Linked DNA regions of Homo sapiens: all the other regions are linked to region 2. The links are contacts of gene promoters, found by promoter capture Hi-C in human tissues and cell types (Jung and others, 2019). All regions are on one chromosome and are shown on one strand. Each heading gives the region's core, a stretch centred on a gene start or on the middle of the fragment in contact. The rest is flanking DNA. Distances are from core to core; before and after follow the strand shown.

Region 1 (2,770 bases), core at 226-2,725, 540 kb before region 2:
GACAAATACATCGATTTTGTCCCCAACCACAAATGAAACAAGAAAGACACACATATTCGCCACCATATCAAGGTTGTGTTTACTCTGTGGTGCAGTCCTGAGGGCTCATACCACTCTCAGTGTGTTCAATACGGAATCCATAACATTTCTGGTGGCATCACACATGAAGTATAGGACACAAGACCATAAGTGTCCTGCGCTCATGAGCCATTTGTGCCACAGACGTAACAGAAAGGCCACTTTTAAAGCTTTTCAGATATTCAATCACATTTGCCTTTTCAATTTTTTTTTTTGAGACAGAGTTTCACTCTGTTGCCCAGGCTGGAGTGCAGTGGCGCAATCTCGGCTCACTGCAACCTCCGCCTCCCAGGTTCAAGCGATTCTCCTGCCTCAGCCTCCTGGGTAGCCGGGATCACAGGCATGTGCCACCATACCCGGCTAGTTTTTTGTATTTTTAGTAGAGATGGGGTTTCGCCATGTTGGCCAGGCTGGTCTCAAACTTCTGACCTCAAGTGATCCACCCGCCTTGGCCTCCCAAAGTGCTGGGATTACAGGCGTGAGCCACCGCACCCGGCCTGCCTTTTCAAAGTTGTTACCACACTAGTTCACACTGAAGGTAAAAGCAATAGTTAGAATCTCTTATTAACAACACATTTTGACTTCAAGTTCAGACAAAGCTGTTGGTTACAAGTTCTGCTAAATTTTTTGTCAAATTTAAGAAGTCTATAGGACAACACAAAACCATCCCTGGTAATGTATTTGCAGTTTGGTCTTCAAAAGCTGTAAAGAGTGACAAAGAAATAAAAAAAAATACTGAGTTAAAACCATTAAAAATATTTATTAATAATTGTTTTTAAATGCCACTTATTTGAGACAGCAGAAACCAAAGCATTTTCTTTAGAATTCTCACTTAGCTTGTATTTCACAAAAGTGCTTTAGAACTCAGATTTCTACCACCTGTGTGGAGTGTAAAGACAAAAGGAAGCCCAACAAAACCAAAGGCCCAATGGTGTCTATTCCCAGGGCCAAGGTATAACCCCAGGCTAACCCACCTGCCCTGGGCTGAGTAGCTGCACACACCTGTGAGTGCTCAAAGTCACACGCATGATTGAGGGGGTCAGGCACCAAGGTGCCTTTATTTATTCATTTCTCAAACTCAATTCCCTTCAAATCCTGACTCGATTTAATAGGCCAATGGATGCTACTCATATTTATTTGGTGCCAAATTATTATTTTTTTAAATCCTTACATCTGCACCTTGAAAGCAAACTGCAATATCCAGCACAACATTGTCAGAGCTGCTGTATGGCTATTTAGCTTTATTACTGCCTGGCTAATGCTTAATACGCTTCATCCTTTACAGCTGGAAGAAGGATGGTCACTGTATTTAACCAGCCATAGTGCATTTAGAGGTCAACAGCTTTTATGGACTATTTGTCCAAGAACTTTCAGTAAACTACCAAGTTGAGGCCTTTATTTTGGTCAGTATGTATAAATATTCATATGCAATTATCCAGAAAGAAGAAAAACTGGTTAACAAGAAACCTACTGTCATGTCAGATGCTGGAAATCAATCTTTAGCTACATAATATTTACAGAAAGGGTTTTAAGATGCATAATCCACTTTTTCAGTCTGTCTCTTGTATTTCATTAGTCAATTGGAAGTGGCACAAGTTTCATCTGGAAAAAATATTTTCACCTTTTCTAATTCTTTTGACAAATAAGTTTTTGTCTGTTAAGGGATGAGAATGCTATTTGGCTATTACCTACTTTTAGAATTCAAACTAACCCTTCAAATGTCTTTATTTAGATCATATGCTCTCAAACTATCTTATTGTTTTACTGACACAATGGTAAAACTGGGTTCCCAAAATGTCAAAACCCTAATGGAGTCTCTATTTCCAAGAGTAAAATAAAAGACAGCTAACACTGTGAGGTGAAAACTATCCTGAGCCTTTTTTCCCCTCTCTTTAACATTTAGAAACTAGGGGGAAAAAAGTGGGATTGCATTAATAGACTTCCAAAACAAAATGTTATGGAAGTGTTTATTTTTTAAAAGGAGAGTTTTAAGAGAACAGGATGCTTGAATATGACCAACTCCCACTCAAGGGGAAAAATAACCACAGGCCTTTGCTGAGATGGCACCAGTAATTCAAAGAAACCAAGCTAACCAGAATTTGATCCACACACAAAATGAAAACTTGTTAACAGGATGGAACAACTATAACAAGATTCAAGTCCCTTCATCTTTTGGCAATGAAATAAGTGAAATTATAACACAAGGACATTTTGGAAGGGTTGAAGATCACAGTCAGAATCAAACAGAAAACTTTCAAACCTAGAAAGCAAAACAGGAACTTTCATAGCTCCTTGATCTACCATATCTAAATAGAAATAGTATAATGCCTATCCAATAGGTGCTTAGTTTCAAAACTAATACAAGCAATTTATCATGAAAAGCCTATACCTAATAAGCTGTTTTTCTTTTCTGTTCTGCCCCTTTGTCATATGCTTGAGCTTAATGAAGACTGTCCTCTGCAGCTGCTCCTGAGGGCAGAGAAGCAAGCAATGGAGTAACAAAGGAAGCCTGAGGAGCCCCTGGCCCCTGAGGACCTTCTCCTCTGGCCGGTCACAGCCACTTATGTTTCAATGCAGGCGATTTCAAGATTGGTTTAAGAAAAAGAATCCTATCTTGGGGATTAGGTTCCCTGTCAAAGGCCATCAGATGGACAGCTATTTACCAGGCAATTAGCCTAAAGCTCTTAGGTAA
Region 2 (3,163 bases), core at 305-2,804:
TTGAAGCTAAGTCATTACACTGACTTAGGCACTAAAGTCTGGACTTGGTCTCTGGGCTCAGGCCAGAATTATTTCCCAGAAGCCTGAACTCCAGGCCGAAACCCAGGCTCCTTGGGACTCACTGGCCACCTTCTCACTCACCCTAAACTCAGCACTGCCCACTCCAGGCAAAGTACACAGCGGCACTTCAAAACCTAGTGGGTGGAATACACTCATGCTTAGGAAGCCGGTAAAGCAGTGCTAACGTTTTGGTTTCTTTTTGTTTGGTTTTCAAAAGGTACATAAAGAGGGTGGGCAACTATAGCACTCAGAGATTATTTTACTGTGATGTTAATGAAGCTTAAGTTTCTAAGTCCCTAGCATTTCATAATAAGTTTCTAAGTCCCTAGCAGTTCTATTCCTTTACTTAAGGCAGGACTCTCCAAATTATATATGTTTTAGAAGCACGAAACCTGAGTCTGCCCCTAATAGCACCACAATCTTTTCAGACCTTACGTCTCCAAAGGTCTTACTTCTCCTGGATGGAGCTCCCTCAGCATCCCAGCTCAGCCCCTTCCCACACCGGGGGCCCTGGTGCTCTGGTGCTGTGGCCTGGTGACTACTGATTCCCCAGTCTGGAACTCATCCTCCTCCTGCATCCTCAACTTCCCTTCCTCCCCTATCCTCTACTTCCCTTCCTCCCCCAACCTCAACTTCCCTTCCTCCCCATTCAAACAATCCACCTAGCGCTGGATACCTGGGAACTCGGATCCCCCTCCTTAACTCCCAGTCTCCTGCTGGGCAAACATACCATGCCTACAAATAAGTGACTGCATCAGCAGGTACTTAAGTACCAAAAGGGGTAGCAGGCTCACCAAAAATTCGACTAGCACAGTGAGTGGCGTCTCCAAGGATTCTCGCCCCAGTCTCTCTGAGCACGAGGAGAGATATGAAATACTGCTCCCTAAGGGGAAACTGAGTGCCAGGCAGCGCCGTCCACCACTGGGCAGGGGGATCCTTCGCTCCACACCCCAGAGGGTTGGAATCCCTCCTTCTCTACCCACCCAATCCCCGACCCTGACTCACCGAACTCGCAAGGGCCGTCGCGCGCCTTGTGCAGGTGACCGGGGTGCGCGCGGGGCGTGTGCCGAGCGCGCAGGCGCAGCGCGCAGACGCTGGGGTACGAGCGACCGTCGGAGCCGCAGACGGTGCCGCGCTGCGCGCACACGCAGAGCCCGGTGCCCTCGGGCGCTGCCCCAGCGGCCTGGCTCGCGCATACCAGGCCGGGGCCACAGCGCCCGCCGGCGCGGCCCCCGCAGCTCGCGCCCTCGGCTCCCAGGCAGCGGGCGCAGCAGCCGCACTCGTCGAGCGCCGAGATCCCGGGCGCCGGGCAGGGCGCAGGCGCCGGGCAGCCCTCTGGCCGGCACGGACCACACTTGGGGCGCCGGCCGCCCACGTCGCGGATCCCAAGGCTCGGGGACAGCGGCGGCAGCAGCGGCAGCAGCAGCAGAAGCAGCAGCGGCAAGAGCAGAGACAAGCGCGGCATGGCTTGCTCCGGGACAGCGGCGGCGCCTCTGCTTCGCGCTCCGCTCCGCGCCCGCCGAGCAGTCACCGCTCCCGCCCCGCGGCCGCTGATTGGCCGGGCCTGCACCGCGGGGCGCCCGCAGACCGCTGCTCCAGCCCGGGACCCGCGCGGTGCCCGCGGCCCGGGTCTCCGAGCTGGAGGGTCGCCCCGAGAGCAGCTCTCCGACCTCCGATTGGACTCTTGAGGGAACCGAGACCCAGTCGGGGCGACAACTTGCCCGAGGTCGCTATGGCAGAGTCAGGATTGGATAACCGTACGGTCTCCGGATCCAAGGCTGGCTCCAGATAGTATGCCCGTAAATCCTCCCAGAAGGATGCGCTATTTTATTTAATTTTATTTTGCATTCAGTAGTTTTCAAAGTTTTATTTTATAAAGAGAATATATGGTTTAAAATGTAGATTTTACATATACATCTAAGGATGAAAAGAGGGTTACCCTACCACCTTGTATCCCCATCCTCCAACTCGGCTTCCAGAGGCCACTCTTGCTATCGGGTTTTTGTATATCTTTTCAGAAATTTTCTCTATGCCTATAAAAGTACATGTGCCTAAAAAAGCCCCTTCCTTTAAAACACACACACTCTGTTTCTCTCTCACACACACAGAGTAGCGTGCCATACACATTAGTCTGCACTTGGTTTTTGCACTTACAGTGTTTCACAGTTTCCCCACCTCTTGTCATCTGTGAAACTGGGTTTCTTATACAATCAATGGGAGCATAGTTCATTGGCTCTGTGAGTGTGTTTCTTAATGCTGCATAAAGTCATGGTACATCTCCGTCCACAGTGACTTTGTTGTGATGAGATATGGTGATATATTTTGGAGTTCATACAGAGTGGCCTTTCCACAGGGTTTAGTTGCAGTTATTTAACCACTTATTTTCCATCCTTTGGTTAATACGAATAATGCTTTGATGAAGTCTTGGTGCACAAGGGTCAGTGTACCTGTGGCTTACTGGGGAATGCATGTTGGAAAGATGCAGTTTCTTGTAGTCAGTTATTCATGCCGCCGTTGCGCCTTCTCTGGGCCAGGCTCTGTGCACACCATCCTGCCTGAGTTCTGGCAGGGCACCCAGACGAGAAACCTAAGAGAGTCTTGGCTGCTGGGATTTGATGTGTTGCTGGGTAAATGCACTGGATGGAGGGAGGGACTCGCTGAGCAGGTTTTATAGGAGACTTTTCCTGCCTTTACTGGCCACCCCTCATGTGTCTTGTGCTCTATTGTTTTTTCTTTGCTGAACTCCTGGAGATGGAGAAAGCCTCTTGCAGCCTGGGAAGACCAGCTACACCGTTCTTGGGTGGGGTTCATTTTGCTTTTCAAGCCCAGTTCCTTCCCAGTTTGCAGTCTTCTTATCCCCAGAAAGGAGCCTCTTCTGAGGCCACTTTATGTGGTGGTCAGAGGAGGGCCATCTGCCTGGTCCACGCCAGGCCTTACCTTACAATCAGCCACACAGAGCAGGGGCGGTTAGGCACCATGAAGGGGTGGTGGTAAGGAATAAATATAACAATGTTGGTAATGCACTCAGCGCAGCTCTCAGAACCTATCAACAGTGACTTTCAACCTGGAGGCTGCTGTCTTTACCAGGAGTGGCCTTTTAAAG
Region 3 (3,008 bases), core at 255-2,754, 590 kb before region 2:
ACCTAAGATAAACTACAATGAACAGGCCGGGCACGGTGGCTCATGCCTGTAATTCCCGCACTTTTGGGTGGATCACCTGAGGTAGGGAGTTCGAGACCAGCCTGACCAACATGGAGAAACCCCGTCTCTACTAAAAATACAAAAATTAGCCGGGCATGGTCGTGCATGCCTGTAATCCCAGCTACTCGGGAGGCTGAGACAGGAGAATCACTTGAACCCGGGAGGCGGAGGTTGCGGTGAGCCAAGATTGTGCCATTGCATTCCAGCCTGGGCAACAAGAGCAAGACTCCATGTCAAAAAAATTAATAAATAAAATAAAATAAAACAAAAAACTACAATGAAGAATAACTACAGAAAGATGTTCAAGCTTATCATTTATTATGGAAGTACAAATAAAAATAACAGTAAATACCAAGTATTGGCAGAAAAATACTTGCTATTTCTCTCGGCAGCGAAACGTTGAGAAATAGGCACTCTTAGATATTACTGATGAAGTATAAATTTATAACATTATTTTGAAGAGCAGTTGAGCAATATATGGTAAAGCTGAAGATTAATTTTTTTTTAATAATTGATGCAGGCTGGGCATGGTGGCTCATACCTGTAATCCCAGCATTTTGGGAGGCTGAGGTGGGACAATCACTGGAGGGCAGGAGTTCAAGACTAGCCTGGGCAACACAGTGAGACTCCGTCTCTACAAACAATTTAAAAATTAGCCAGGTGTAGTTGCACGTGCCTATAGTCCCAGCTACTTAGAAAGCTTAGGAGGAATGCTTGAGCCCAGGAGTTTGAGGCTGCAGGGAGCCATGATTGCACCACTGCATTCCAGTCTGGGTGACAGAGCAAGACCCTGTCTCTTAAAGAATAAAGAAGAAGAAGAAAGAAATTAATGCATATGTGGACACGGAGGTATATGAAGAAGATTCATTATAGCATTGTTTGTAATAGAGAGAAGTTGGAAACGAATGTCTATCAAGAGGAAATATTAATAGATAAATAAATTCTGGTGTACTCATACAATGAAATACTATACATCAGTTAAGATAAATGAACTAAAAGCATCAGCATCTGATACACATCTCAGAAATTTAAAGTTGAGGTAGAAAAGAAAAAAATGTAGAATGAGCTTTATATAGTGTGATACCATTTACATAAAATTTGAAAACATTACAAACATAAGCTTGGTGAGGGCATGTATTTGTTCTGTGCTCTATCCCAGCATCTAGAATTGTGCCTAGCATATGGTGGGTTCTTATTAAACATTTACAGAGAAAAAACTGAACGCAAAACAATACTATAAAGTGTTTATGGTTACATACATATGAATTCATGGTATTAAAAATTTACATGGGAATAACAACAACTTTTGGATAGTGGTTCCCTCTGGGGAGGAAGAGAAGGGAAGGGACTGGGGAGGGATATACAAGGCACTTCAACTGTGTTTGTAATGTTCAAAAATATGTGAAAGATAAAATGTTAAAATTGATAAAGCTGAGTGGTATCACAGATGTTTGTTATATTTTTCATAGTTTTCTCTATGTTGCTAATATGTTATAATTTAAAAATTTCTTAGAAAGATAAGACTTGTGCCAAGTTGTTTGCCTTTACTCAAAACAACCTTTGGCTAATCCGCTATTAGAATGTATTATTTATCAATGTTAGCCTTCATTTGCTGCTGCCAGTATGCCTGCCATAGCAACTCATGCCTACAAATTTGAATCTGCTTCTTCTGATCTGTTGATTAGAGAAATCGATTTTGAAGCTCGTTTAGAAGTATACATAACTTAAGAGTTTTGGCTGGGCGCAGTGGCTCATGCCTGTAATCCCAGCACTTTGGGAGGCTGAGGTGGGCAGATTGCCTGAGGTCAGGAGTTCCAGACCAACCTGGCTAACATGGTGAAACCCCGTCTCTATTAAAAATACAAAAATTAGCTGGGCGTGGTGGCACACGCCTGCAGTCCCAGCTACTCGGGAGGCAGGAGACTCGCTTGAACCCAGGAGGCAGAGGTTGCAGTGAGCCGAGATCGCGCCACTGCACTCCAGCCTGGGCGATAGAGCGAGACTCTGTCTCAAAAAAAAAGAAAGTTTTGAGTGAAGATCTGAAGAGTCTTTGGTGCATGAGCTCAAGTGTGCTTTATTTATTAATAATACTAACTTCCATTTTTTAATGCTTTCTATGTGCCAAACCTTCTGTGAAGCACTTTTTATACATTACTTAATCCTCACAGTATCCCTCTGTGAGACAGATATTGTAGCTATTTAAGGAATAAAAAACTATAACTCAAATAAAGAGATTTGCCCAAGTTCTTAGATATAGTAAGTGGTGGAGCTGGAATTCATACTCAGTTCCATTAGATCACCTCACTGTACTGTTCAGAGACAGGGGCATGCATTTTCTGGTTTGAATCTAGACGGTCATTTTGTACATACTTGGTAATGTCTTCTAGTTCATTTCTTAGTTTTGTAGTTTGCTTATTATCTTGTAAAATAAAAAAATAAAAAACATTGGTAGTTACGGACAATATTTTCTATTACTTCATATTTTGGGAAAGTAGTGGGAAAAGTCTGTAATTTAAATACTTACACCCATTATACAGGCTTACTTCTCATTCCTGAGGGATCTGTATGTGGATTTAGAGTTCCTTTAATAATCATTAGCTGGGCGTGGTGGCCGGCATCTGTAATCCCAGCTACTCGGGAGGCTGAGGCAGAGAATTGCTTGAACCTGGGAGGCGGAGGCTGTAGTGACCCGAGATTGTGCCACTGCACTCCAGCCTGGGCGACAGAGCGAGACTCCGTCTCAAAAAACAAAACAAAAAAAAGATCTAGGTCCCCCCAGTTATGAAGTTGCAGGGAGAAGCCCGGAGGTCATCATAAAAATATTTACTTAGTGATATTACATTTAAAAAATTAGTACCTATTTAGTCGGGCATGGTGGCGGGTGCCTGTAATCCCAGCTACTCAGGAGGCTGAGGCAGGAGAATCGCTTGAACCATCTAAAAAAAAAT

What was found. The method cuts DNA at HindIII sites, captures the fragments that hold promoters and counts their contacts. A contact is called where the count stands out against the background at its distance.
Region 1: a fragment that was not itself captured here is called in contact with the fragment with the promoter of IGFBPL1 in region 2 in 1 of the 25 tissues and cell types used here (dorsolateral prefrontal cortex).
Region 3: a fragment that was not itself captured here is called in contact with the fragment with the promoter of IGFBPL1 in region 2 in 2 of the 25 tissues and cell types used here (dorsolateral prefrontal cortex and hippocampus).

What each region holds. Positions count from the first base shown.
Region 1 is chr9:37,882,569-37,885,338 of GRCh38, forward strand. It overlaps a transcript of SLC25A51 not described here and the pseudogene PAICSP1. Among named protein-coding and RNA genes, the nearest start is that of SLC25A51, 20 kb to the right of the region's middle. The HindIII fragment of the contact is 3,987 bases long and covers 1-2,770 here.
Region 2 is chr9:38,422,900-38,426,062 of GRCh38, forward strand. IGFBPL1 (insulin like growth factor binding protein like 1) reads right to left here and starts at 1,555. Exons shown (of 5, transcript NM_001007563.3): 1 at 1,066-1,555. The coding sequence starts at 1,525. It overlaps LOC105376041 (a long non-coding RNA gene), which reads left to right and starts at 1,712. Exons shown (of 8, transcript XR_007061487.1): 1 at 1,712-1,851. RefSeq lists an enhancer at 2,600-3,163. The HindIII fragment of the contact is 5,843 bases long and covers 1-3,163 here.
Region 3 is chr9:37,829,146-37,832,153 of GRCh38, forward strand. The region is part of intron 2 of DCAF10 (DDB1 and CUL4 associated factor 10); the gene reads left to right. Among named protein-coding and RNA genes, the nearest start is that of DCAF10, 30 kb to the left of the region's middle. The HindIII fragment of the contact is 6,117 bases long and covers 1-3,008 here.